Regions from separate parts of the Homo sapiens genome. Here regions 1, 2 and 4 are each linked to region 3. The links are contacts of gene promoters, found by promoter capture Hi-C in blood cells and fetal thymus (Javierre and others, 2016). All regions are on one chromosome and are shown on one strand. Each heading gives the region's core, a stretch centred on a gene start or on the middle of the fragment in contact. The rest is flanking DNA. Distances are from core to core; before and after follow the strand shown.

Region 1 (2,700 bases), core at 63-2,562, 70 kb after region 3:
GGATAAGCAGAGTCCAAGGGAAATTACTACTTAATGGCTAGAAGAGGTATGTGTGAGCACGTCTATAAAACATCCCTAACTACCTGTAACACAGATTGCACACTGTTCCCTGCTAACGACTGGCTTAATACATCAATCAATAAGACTGGAAATCGTTGTTTTCTATGGACGCTGAATCTGAGCTTGTCGAAATGATTTTCCCAAAACACAGTCTACTTCAAGGATTTCCGCAGCACTAACTCCTTTTGGAATATCCCTTTGAGAACATAATTAGAAATATATATCACTTTCATGTAGTTTGGGGCAAGCAATTTCCTTACCTTCATCACATTATAAACGAAGTCCAAGACTGATTTTTCATTGTGTTTGAAATGGATTTTCTAGAATTATGTCTAATTGCCAGATATCATAGAGATTAATAACACTCAAAAGTCTTAAGGACAAGTAAGCTAAAACTGAGTTCCCAGAGAGTCTGATTCCTTTAAGACTGTGAAGACACTGTTTAGCCAGGTTGAGAAGCATCTTCCCATCATCCCCAACTCTCCGGGCTACAGTGAACAACCATTTATTTAACACTTCACATGTTCCAGACCCAGAGTGCTCAGAACCACAGTGAGCTACAAAAATGCAGAAGAAACATCCTTTCCCCCAGAAGCTTCCAACCCAGTTAACTATCTTCAAGTGATTAAAATAAGACAGCTGACTATTAAGTTAGAAATATTACATGCTATAGGGAAATAGAGCAGGAAAGGAATGAGAAGAAATTCCTTTTAACTGCAGGATCTGGGCAAGCCTTTAGTTCAGGCAGGATCTGAACAGAGTAGAGAGGCAGGTGGATGTGAAGAAGGCATCCCTTAGTGGAGGGATGAAAAATGGAGGGATGTATTCACCAACAACGAAGCGTCTGTGACTTCAGTGTGTGCGTGTGTGTGTGTGTGTGTGTGTGTGGCAGGTGGAGGCTGCTCAGAATAGTGCAGGGGGGAGGGAGAAAAACAGTAAGAGATGAGGAAATGTATTTAGCACCTATTACATGCCAGGAGTGTTGTACGTTATTTCAATCACACTTTATAACAATATTGAACAGTAATATTCCTTTTTTACAGATGAAGAAATTGGCCCAGAGAGATTCAGAAACTCCTCTAAGATCATTTAGCTAGTCAATGGACTAAATAGTCAATAAATATTCAAATCAGGTCTTTTTTCTTTGCCATACCATGTTTGCTTAAAGCCCAGCTAAGGATTCTGGACTACCCTACAGGCAATAGGTGGTGAAGGAGGGCAGAGGCAGTAGCATCAGCAGGTATCTCTGTTCACATAGGGCCCACCGTGTGTCCAGACTGGGCTGACTCTTTTCCCTCTGGAAATAAGAGGCAAATGAGACACCCATCCCTGCCCTCGAAGAACCTCGTGTGCTTTTGTGGGAAAATAAAAACATTAACGGACACATGTATTAAAATGTAAGGACACACGTATTATAATGTAAGTACAATGACAACAATTTGGGGAGAGTGCTATGGAAACACCCTTCCAAGGAAAGTGTCCTAGAGAGGTCATCCAGGCTGTCCTGGAAGAAGTATAAAGTTGAAGAAGGTGGGAAAGGATATTTTAGGCAGAGGAAAAGATCGCTCTGAAAACAAAGATAGGAACTGTCATGGTCCACACACCTCGAGGTAATAGGAAGGACGGGGAATAAGGCTGGAAGGCTTGGGAATGCCTTGCTGAGGAGCTGAAGCCCTGGGAAGCCCCTGAAGACTTTGATCAGGGCAGTGATACGGTTACATGCTAATGCTAGGAAAATCCAGGAGTGCCTTGGGGAAGGAAGACTGGAGGCAGTTAGAGCAGCTGGTCAGCAGAGGTGAGGGGAGAGAGCCAGAGCCCGTGTGAGGACAGCAGTCACAGGCATGGAGAAGAGTTGGGTTTGAGAGATACCTAGGAGGCAAACACATCAGGTTCTGGAGGCTCAGATTTTAAAAGCTTATCACTAATATACCAAATCTCTTAAAAAAAAAAAAAGAAGAAGAAGAAGAAGAAGAAAAAAAAAAGGTCTGGCTAGCAATGTGTCCTCATCTACCCTAAGAAACTAAGTGAACACTGGGTCCTGTCTATAAGCATTAGTCCTGAAGTCAGCAGTGCCTAAATGCAAAGAACAAACACAGATGCTAAGATGTGAGTGGGCAGGCCAGTTCACCTATGAACAAGGGTAAGAAGGAAACAGAACCAGTCCTGGAGAGTACAAACACTGTGCCCTCTTCCTTAATTTGCACACCTGATTCAAGTATTTTACTTACCCTTACAGATTTCTATAACTCCTGAAGACTGATATTTTTATTCGTTTTATTTATTTATTTTTGAGACAGGGTCTCATTCTGTCGCCCAGGCTGGAATGCAGGGGCGTGATTTTGGCTCACCACAACCTCTATCTCTCGGGTATGAGCGATTCTCCTGCCTCAGCCTCCCAAGTAGCTGGGACTACAGGCATGTGTCACCACGCCCAGCTAATTTTTTTGTATTTTTAGTAGAGACGGGGTTTCGCCATGTTGGCCAGACTTGTCTCAATCTTCTGGCCTCAAGTGATCCACCCACCTTGGCCTCCCAAAGAGCTGGGATTACAGGTGTGAGCCACTGCACCCGGCTTATTCCTGTTTTACAGCTGAAAAAATGACAAGTTGATTAGTTACAAGTTTTTCTGATAGTTACACA
Region 2 (2,700 bases), core at 78-2,577, 120 kb after region 3:
GGTTTAAGTGCAGGCCCTTCAGACAAGTCACGTCAGGCAAGAGAGGGCTGGCCTCTGACCCACAAGAGGGCAGATTTGTGGCCAAGAGGCTTCCTGGCATCCACCCCCAGGCCCAAGGGATCAGTGTGGTGCCAGAGAGGATCTTTAAGCTGGGACTGTACTGAGGCTTGATGGGAAGTATGGGCAGCATGTACTTGACACGTTATCACCCAGTCCCCTTGTAAAATCTGGAATGGAGCGTTTAAGCTGAGCGTTAGCATCAGGTCAGCAGGCAAAGCAAACCTCCCACAAACTGGGTGCCGTAAGGTGGGAGGTGACACATGGAGAGCTTCGTCCTGGCCGAGCAGGCACCCAGCCCCATGTCCCCCGCCAGCATTCTGGATGTCAGAGGAGGGTGCGTGTGATGGCGTCACATTCATCTGAAGCACACTGATTGATTTTCCACAAGGTGGCAAGTTTGATCAAATTGACCGCTTTTCATGAGACACCCAGATGCTGTAAAAAAAAAAAACAGCACTGGGATGTGTTGAGGAGGGGGCAGTTTGCTGTGCTCTGTTCTGTCTGCTGCTCTCTCTGGGGGCCGCACAATGTCCGCACACATCACGGAGGGGAGAAAGGCATCAGTACCAAACGGAACAACCTCTTTTTTCTACATTGTCCATACCCGGACATGTGAGGCTCTATTATCAACAGGTGGTGAGAAAAATTATGTTTTTATTCGCTTTCTGGTAACTTCTGTAGGCCCTGGCTCAAGGACTTAGCATTTCGTCTCATGTACATCTTTTTCTTAAGTGTTCTTTGCCATTTCTGGAATTGTCCTTGGTTTTTCCTTAGCTCATAGGTCATAGATGCAGAAATATAGTATTTAAGGCATCCGCATCCAGCATCAGATGGCTTTGCATCCAGAAAAACATTGATAACTCAGTTTGAAGCACCAAGCATGTGTAATATGGCTCTATACAATATAATAAATGCATAATGTTAAGCTTTTTAATGCCTGTGGTTCTTGTTTGTTCCTCAGTCCTCTAAGCCACTTCTTTAGTGTTTCACTGCACATGAAACCAGGCCATGAGCCCTTCCTGGTCTAAGAGTTGCCTAAACTGCCCGGGGCAGTTCTTGCGGCTTGCTTTCTCACACACAGGACTGGGAACTCCCAGGATTTGGTCTCACACCAGCAAGAAATGCTTCTGTAACCTTTCAGCTCCAAGGTGGGCTCAGGAGCAAGAGGGCGTTTTAAAGAGAGCCTCACCCACTGTTCAGAAAGCACAGCCCAGTGAAATGCCCACGCAGCCGGACCTATGAGCCCATGTCAGCCCTGGAAGCTCCGGAGCTAACTGGGATGGACTCGGAAGAACTTGACCAAATACACTGAGAGCTACTTAGGATTTAGCCAAAAGCAAAATGCAGAGCAGAGCTTCCTCCCTCTGGTTGGGGCCTTGGTGTCTGATGTTCTGCAGAGCAAGGTTCAGAGTGAGGCGTGAAGTTCATTATTACTTGAATACATGTGACTTTCCCTTTTTGCTAGTGACAGAAGGGGCTGCTGACAGAATGCTACTGAGGTGGCAAGTCGCAGGCCTGTGCAAGCCCAGAACTGCTGAGTGAAGGCCCTAAGTAGGGCTGAGCTGAGCAAGACGGTGGAAAACCTGTAGATTTTACATGGGAAGGAACTAAAGCTTTGGAATTGCTTTTTTTTTTTTTTTTTTTAGATGGAGTATTGCTGTGTCTCCCAGGCTGGAGTGCAGTGGCGCGCAATCTCAGCTCACTGCAACCTCTGCCTCCCGGGTTCAAGCGGTTCTCCTGCCTCAGCTTCCTGAATAGCAGGAGGTTGTGTGTGCCACCATGCCCGGCTAATTTTGTATTTTTAGTAGAGATGGGGGTTTCACTATGTTGGCCAGGCTGGTGTTAAACTTCTGACCTCACAATCCACCCGCCTCGGCCTCCCAAAGTGCTGGGATTTCAGGCGTGAACCACCGTGCCTGGCCTGGAATTGCTTTCTTTAGAAACCCCTAGATACAGATGAAACCAGTATCTCTCCTTTATACTTGCCGGTGTCTCTGCCTGGCTATAATTTTTTATTTTATTTATTTATTTATTTTTTGGTAAGAGACAGGGTCTTGCTATCACCTAGGCCGGAGTGCAGTGGCACGACCATAGCTCACTGCTGCCTTGAATTCCTGGACTCCAGTGGTCCTCCTGCCTTGGCCTCCCGAGTAGCTACGATTACCGTGAGCCACCATGCGCAGCCCATAACATTTGTTGAGAACACATATGTACCCAGTGGCCTCCTCCAAACCACCCTTTGATGAATTAGCTAGCAATATCACCATGCTGTAAGAGAGGAACAGGCTCAGATTTATTTGCAAAGTCCAGGCAGCCAGAATTCAAAGCCCAAGCCTGCCTGGCTTCCAAGGTACTCTGCTTGCCACTGGCTCCTTAGCTTGAATTCTCCTCCAGTCCCCTTTCAAAAAAGCCCTGGCCCTTGTTTATGGAGCAGTGCATCGGCCTCCCTGGTGTGCGGCCCTTTCTGTTCTGGCGCAGTGGTGCCTCCTGGCCTTGGAAGGGTCCTCAGGGCTCCCCGACTGCCCGCCATTGTGACCGTTCCCCTCGGTCCTTGCTGACCTCCCCACACGGCCTTTCTGCTAACAGGGTCTCAGCACGTGATTTGAACTGCAGCGGTTCCCTACTTCCTACCGAAAAATC
Region 3 (2,700 bases), core at 58-2,557:
TGGGGAGAGGTTGCAGTGAGCTAAGATCGCGCCTAGCCAACATGGTGAAACTCCATCTCACTACAAATACAAAAATTAGCCGGGTGTGGTGGCAGGTGCCTGTAATCCCAGCTACTCAGAAGGCTGAGGCAGGAGAATCGCTTGAACCTGGGAGGCGGGGGTCGCAGTGAGCCGAGATCGCGAGACTCTGTCTCTAAATAAATAAATTAATTAAATTAAATAAAACGCCCGATTAAAATGTGAAACCTCCATCAAATAAGTGCAAATTAAAGCCACAGTGAAATGGTATTGTTTCCCCAATCTGACTGAAGATTACAAAGTGTGGCAACGCGCGGTGCTGACTTAGGCAGGGCGGGAGGGGCGGGCCTGTCTCAGCCTGTGGCGATTTGGTGGCATCTGGCAAAAGCCACTCTCCAGACGCAGGCCCTTTAACCCCGTAAGCCCGGGCCAAGGACGACTCACCGGGGCCACCTTGCTTGTGGGTGGGATGGGGCCTCTGGCATGAACGAGAGTGACTCCGAGTGGGTAAAGATGCCCTCCTCGCAGAGGACACGAAGCAACAAGGAAAACAGCCACCACGTAATAAGCGACATGCCAGAATAGAAGGATTCTTTAGTACAATCTTTGCTTTTTTCAAAGAAAACACGCGCGCCTCTCATTCGCGTTTGCTCCCTTCCCGGCGCTCATCCGCCCTGAACTCCAGCCTGGGGCGCCCGTGGCCGCGAGACCCAGGGGCTCTGAGCGCAGCAGGCGCCCAGTGACTGCGGGTGGAGGCCCCGCGTCGCGCAAGCTGCCTCCGCGCCAGGGAGCGCGTGCGCCTCGTAGCGCGTCCCGGGGCCGCCCCTGCGCCCTCGCGTCCCAGCATCCCAGAGCCCCGGCCCTGGCCCCGGGAGTGGCTCGCGAGGAACAGCTGGGACGCGCTCCCTGGCGCTCGGACCCGTACTGGGGTCCTCGGAATCCTCAGGTCCCAGGGAGTTTCAGACCCGGCCAGGGTGGGGGACCCTCGGGGAGCCGGCCGGGGACCCCAGGGAGGGGAGCGGCAATGGCGGAACGCCCACTGGAATTTGGGCCAGAGCTGGAGCGGCCCGTCTGGGCTCGACCCCACGACGCGACTCCAGACGGGCCAACGGGGCGGTCCCCACCGGGGTGGGCCCCGCGCGGCGCTCACCCAGTATCTCCTTGCGCCGCTGCGTGTGCGGCTGGTCGGTGTAGACCCACTCGAAGTCGCTGCGGCTCGCGCTGTTGCCCATGGTGGGGCGGGAGGCGCCGTTCGGAGCGCGGCCGGCTCGGCTCTGCTGCACCTGTCGCGGCGGCCGCGGCGCGGAACCAGCTCTGATTAGGGCGGGGGCGGGGTCCCGGCGGGGCGGGGCCAGGTGCGCCAGGCTTGGGGCGGGGCACCTCTGGCTGGGCGGGGCGGCCGGGCCCCGGCGCTCTCCAGACCCCGGCGGGTAGCTGGCGCTTTGGGAACCTCAGTTGCCTCGGTTGGAAATGGGGCTCCCCGGCAGGACCGAGGTGGCCGCGTGCCATCTGCGCGAGTCCCTGGGTCCCTCGATGCGCGGGGGCGACTGCTGCCACCGCGGCCTCCCACCGGCTCTGCGCGCCCCGCCCACCCGCGGGCAGCCGTCGGGTTTTTACCCCGGCCCGTTCTCTCCGCAGCCCCGACCCGCTCGCGGGCACGCCCCTGTGGCTCGCGCCGCCCCTGCCCCAAGGAGGAGCGGCTGGCAGGATAGGGGGACTGCGGAGGATCGGCGTGGAATGGATGCGACGGTGCCAGTAAACAGGCGCCGAGGAAAGGTTGGTGCAGCAATCCTCCCTTCCTCCACCCGGCCCTTTCACCAATAATGCAAAGGGGAGATAATGCGTCTGCAGCAACCTCACAGGGATGAGTCAGACCCACTCCTGCCTTCAGGGAACTTGAGTTCTGGATGGGGACACAGGTACAGAAGTGGCTGTTATGATTCAGGGTGATACGTGCCATGACACAGGTAGGCCCTGAAGCAGCTAGGATCCAATAGAAGGAACTTTTGCATTGGGCCTTGAGGGGTGGGTAGGAGTTCAACAGCTAGAAAAGGGAAAGGCATTGGTGCTAGGGGGAACAGCAGATGCAAACGCTTGGAAACAAGGCAGAACCTGAATGTTCTCAAATGGAAAGTCTAGTTTTGGGGAGGTAAGGGCACAGGGCCCCTCATCTTCACCCTCTCAGTGATGCCTCTGTTCCTTCTCCCACTCCCTTGGAGTTTTGGAGGGTGGACCTGCTGTGCCTGTGGGCCAGAGCCTGGCCTCGGCTGGCAGTTGCCTGGGAGCTGACTGACACATCAGCCAGCGCTGCCACAGGCTCGCACATAGTGAGGGCGTGCTTCTGTGCGTCCCATGGAAGTCCATGGCCCGGGGTTTGGTACACTTGGCAGGCCTTCCTTAGCTCAGGGCCAAAGGCAGTCCTGAGTGAGCCAGGAAGGAAGGCATGGGTGTCCTGCAGCCGCCAGCCACCATCCCCTGAATTAGCCATGGGAAAGGTGGACACAGAGGCCAGATTTTCCATCAGCAGGGGGACCCACATGCCACCATGGCCATCACCCCTTGCCACACCCAGGAGGCCTCCCGGCCCAGCTTGCACCCTTGGGAGAAGACTCATTGCTCCCAGGGCAGCCTGCTCTGTTCCCAGCCAGAAGGGTCCTCAGAAGTCATCCCACCAGCCATCAC
Region 4 (2,700 bases), core at 78-2,577, 89 kb before region 3:
CTGTCAGGTAGTGAAGGAGCTGTGGCTGCTTGGGCACAGTCATTACTGTTTATTCCACTGTGCTGCACATCTTGAAGCTGTAAAGATATAAGAAGTCTCGCACAGCCGGGGTTCAGCTTACAATCCTTCGCACCTAATTGTACGCCTTTGTGTGAGGGTTTGGAGGAGTCTCCAGGAACACCTGGTGTTTCCTTTCTCACAGGTATTTCCAGTCCTCACGGGCAAGTCAGAGAGTCCCAGAGGCAATTGAACAAGCCCTCAGAGATCACGTAGTCCGTTCACTCTCCATGGGAACCCGCACTTCCCTAGAGACCTGTAGCCAAATCATTTGGAGAGCTTCTGAAGCTTCTCTGCCTTCCTCTGTCTCAAAGAATCCCATGTGCCTCTAGTTGAGAAACATTCCTCTGGAGATTCTAGGTTATTCTCATGAGAATGTTACGATACTCAGGTGGGCTGGGGCAGAAAATGGATGAGAACTAGTGTAGTCCAATGGCTTTGCTTTGGTAACTGAACCCACAGAGGAGGAAAATAACAACAGCTCAGCTTTTCTCAGTGTTATACACCAACCATTACGCTAGTTACATGATATACATACTATTTAATTCTCATCCTTTGAGGTCTGGTATCACTATTGCCACTTTACAGATAAGAAAACAAGGGTTGGCCGGGTATGGTGGCTCACTCCTGTAATCCCAACACTTTGAGAGGCCAACGCAGGTAGATCACCTGAGCTGAGGAGTTCAAGACCAGCCTAGGCATCATAGTAAGACCTCCTCTCTTAAAAAAAAAAAAAAAAAGAAAGAAAGAAAATAAAATTAAAAAATGAAAATTAGCCAGATGTGATAGTGCATGCCTGAAGCCTATAGTCCCAACTTCTCAGGAGGCTGAGGTGGGAGGATTGCTTGAGCCCAGCAGTTCAAGCCTGCAGTGAGCTGTGATCACACTACTGCACTCCACCCTGGTGACAGAGCAAGACCCTACCTCAAAAAGAAAAGAAAACAAGGGCCTACAAAGTATCGTATTCCAGGTCACATTGTTGTCACTTGACGGAGCTTTTGATCTCTGAGAGGATCAAAATCTGCCCTCTCAGCTTTAACTTCTCAAAGCTAAACTTGTCCCAATTTGCAGAGTCAAGGGTAGAATCGAGGCCCTCCTGATCTCTATTTTGCAGTCTCCGTCATTCTGTGCTGTTAATACCACAAGAGACAAAAGAGACCTCGTCTGTCCTGTAGCACCCCGTGCCTGCGTGCGTATCTCTTGTCGATGCTCTGTCGGCTCAGGATCTCTCCTACCAGCCTAGAGCTCTTTCAGAGCAGGACGCTTGTGTTATGCATTCATGTTTGTCCCTGTGCCTAGTAAATAGCACAGAGTCCAAGTGGCTACTTGTGTCTTCAGGGGTGTTTGTAAGGGCAGAGCCGGGGTCTTCATTCCCAGGCTGTTGATTCATCCTTGGAGCTGAACATACTGTCCCAATCCTTGGCCCAAGCCAGGCCTCTACAGTTGTCCCAAGGCTGTGCTAAAACCTGTTCCACTTCACAAGTGATCAGAGTCACAGACTCTGGGGACACAAATTTTGAGATGAAGACACAGAGCAAAATATATAAATGTTTTTGAGGTTTGAGTAGCCTTAACGTCCACGTGGCTGTCAGATGGCTCCCCAAAGAAAGGGCTACGCCGGTGGCCTTGAAAGAGTATGGGAGATGCATATGAGACAGGGTCAGTCTAGGAATGTCAGACTCCCCCAACAGTTGGTTGGAGTGTTTTTCCAGATTGCACCAGACTTCACAGAGTAATGGAGACCAGCTGTCCAGGCATCTGAGAGGGTGACATCCAAGGAGAAAAGGCAAACGTCTTGATTGCCCATGATGTGGGCAACCAATTTGGATAGAAAAGAAGGTGTCAGGGTTTAACACTGAATGTAGACTTTATTTACCCAAAGCCTTTCTTTAATTCTAACACTCTCAAAAATGGGGCTCAGTCACCATTTGGGTTTCCCATGTTAATATGCAGAGAGCTAATTCATTGTCTTTCATTGCTGTAATGCAGCAGTTCTCAAAATGTACTCCAGAGATTGACCCTCCTAGGAGTCTGTAGATCAGAACTGTATTTATAATATTACTAAGACATCATTTGCCATTTCAGCTCTTGTCTCATGAATTCATGGTGGAATTTTCCAGAGCTATGTGATGTTTTGACATCATCACTGTGGCAGCTAATGAAATGTCTGCTTGTATATTCTTGTGTTTTAAAAAATTATTAGTTTTAATTTCAAATAAGGTGAATATGGATAGACTTAACCTACATAAAACAGAAGCTTTTTGGCATCCTCAATAATTGAGTGTAAAGGGGTTCTCTTGACCAAAAAAGTTTGAGAACTATGTGTGTAAAATAGTCAGTTGTATGGCTGCACTACAGACAGCAAGCATGGAATTGAAAATACCACCTGCAAGGTGGCGGTTCCCCCTGGTAGAGAGGAGGGGCTCTGGGTCTGGGAGGAGGATGCAGGCGTCACTTGAACTAAACAGCTTTATGACTTGCTGTCAGATTTCCTAGACTGTGTGGTGGGATCGTGGGAACCTACTTCTCACAGGCCTGAAGTACTTCACAATAAACATTTTAAGTCTACTTCATAGCATGAAACCTGTTTCACACCTGTGCCCATTAAGAAAAAAAAATGGCACCCTATAAATGATTTAATAA

Evidence for each region. Contacts are between HindIII fragments. The CHiCAGO score rates a contact against its expected background, and 5 or more counts as called.
Region 1: a contact is called between a fragment that was not itself captured here and the fragment with the promoter of DEGS2 in region 3, in 1 of 17 cell types (total B cells). The highest score is 5.4, in total B cells.
Region 2: a fragment that was not itself captured here is called in contact with the fragment with the promoter of DEGS2 in region 3 in 1 of 17 cell types (total B cells); the score reaches 5.5 in total B cells.
Region 4: a contact is called between a fragment that was not itself captured here and the fragment with the promoter of DEGS2 in region 3, in 7 of 17 cell types (total B cells, erythroblasts, megakaryocytes and 4 more). The highest score is 12.6, in total B cells.

What each region holds. Positions count from the first base shown.
Region 1 is chr14:100,228,760-100,231,459 of GRCh38, forward strand. All of the region lies in intron 1 of YY1-DT (YY1 divergent transcript), which reads right to left. Among named protein-coding and RNA genes, the nearest start is that of YY1-DT, 8.5 kb to the right of the region's middle. The HindIII fragment of the contact is 1,319 bases long and covers 654-1,972 here.
Region 2 is chr14:100,281,799-100,284,498 of GRCh38, forward strand. YY1 (YY1 transcription factor) reads left to right here. Exons shown (of 5, transcript NM_003403.5): 5 at 1-990. It also overlaps a transcript of SLC25A29 not described here. Among named protein-coding and RNA genes, the nearest start is that of MIR6764, 5.8 kb to the left of the region's middle. The HindIII fragment of the contact is 687 bases long and covers 985-1,671 here.
Region 3 is chr14:100,158,338-100,161,037 of GRCh38, forward strand. It overlaps DEGS2 (delta 4-desaturase, sphingolipid 2), which reads right to left and starts at 1,308. Exons shown (of 3, transcript NM_206918.3): 1 at 1,169-1,308. The coding sequence starts at 1,250. LOC124903380 (a long non-coding RNA gene) reads left to right here and starts at 1,700. Exons shown (of 2, transcript XR_007064330.1): 1 at 1,700-1,794. RefSeq lists silencers at 1,095-1,154, 1,255-1,654. The HindIII fragment of the contact is 5,862 bases long and covers 1-2,700 here.
Region 4 is chr14:100,069,283-100,071,982 of GRCh38, forward strand. The region is part of intron 1 of EVL (Enah/Vasp-like); the gene reads left to right. Among named protein-coding and RNA genes, the nearest start is that of EVL, 5.2 kb to the left of the region's middle. RefSeq lists an enhancer at 1-290. The HindIII fragment of the contact is 1,969 bases long and covers 344-2,312 here.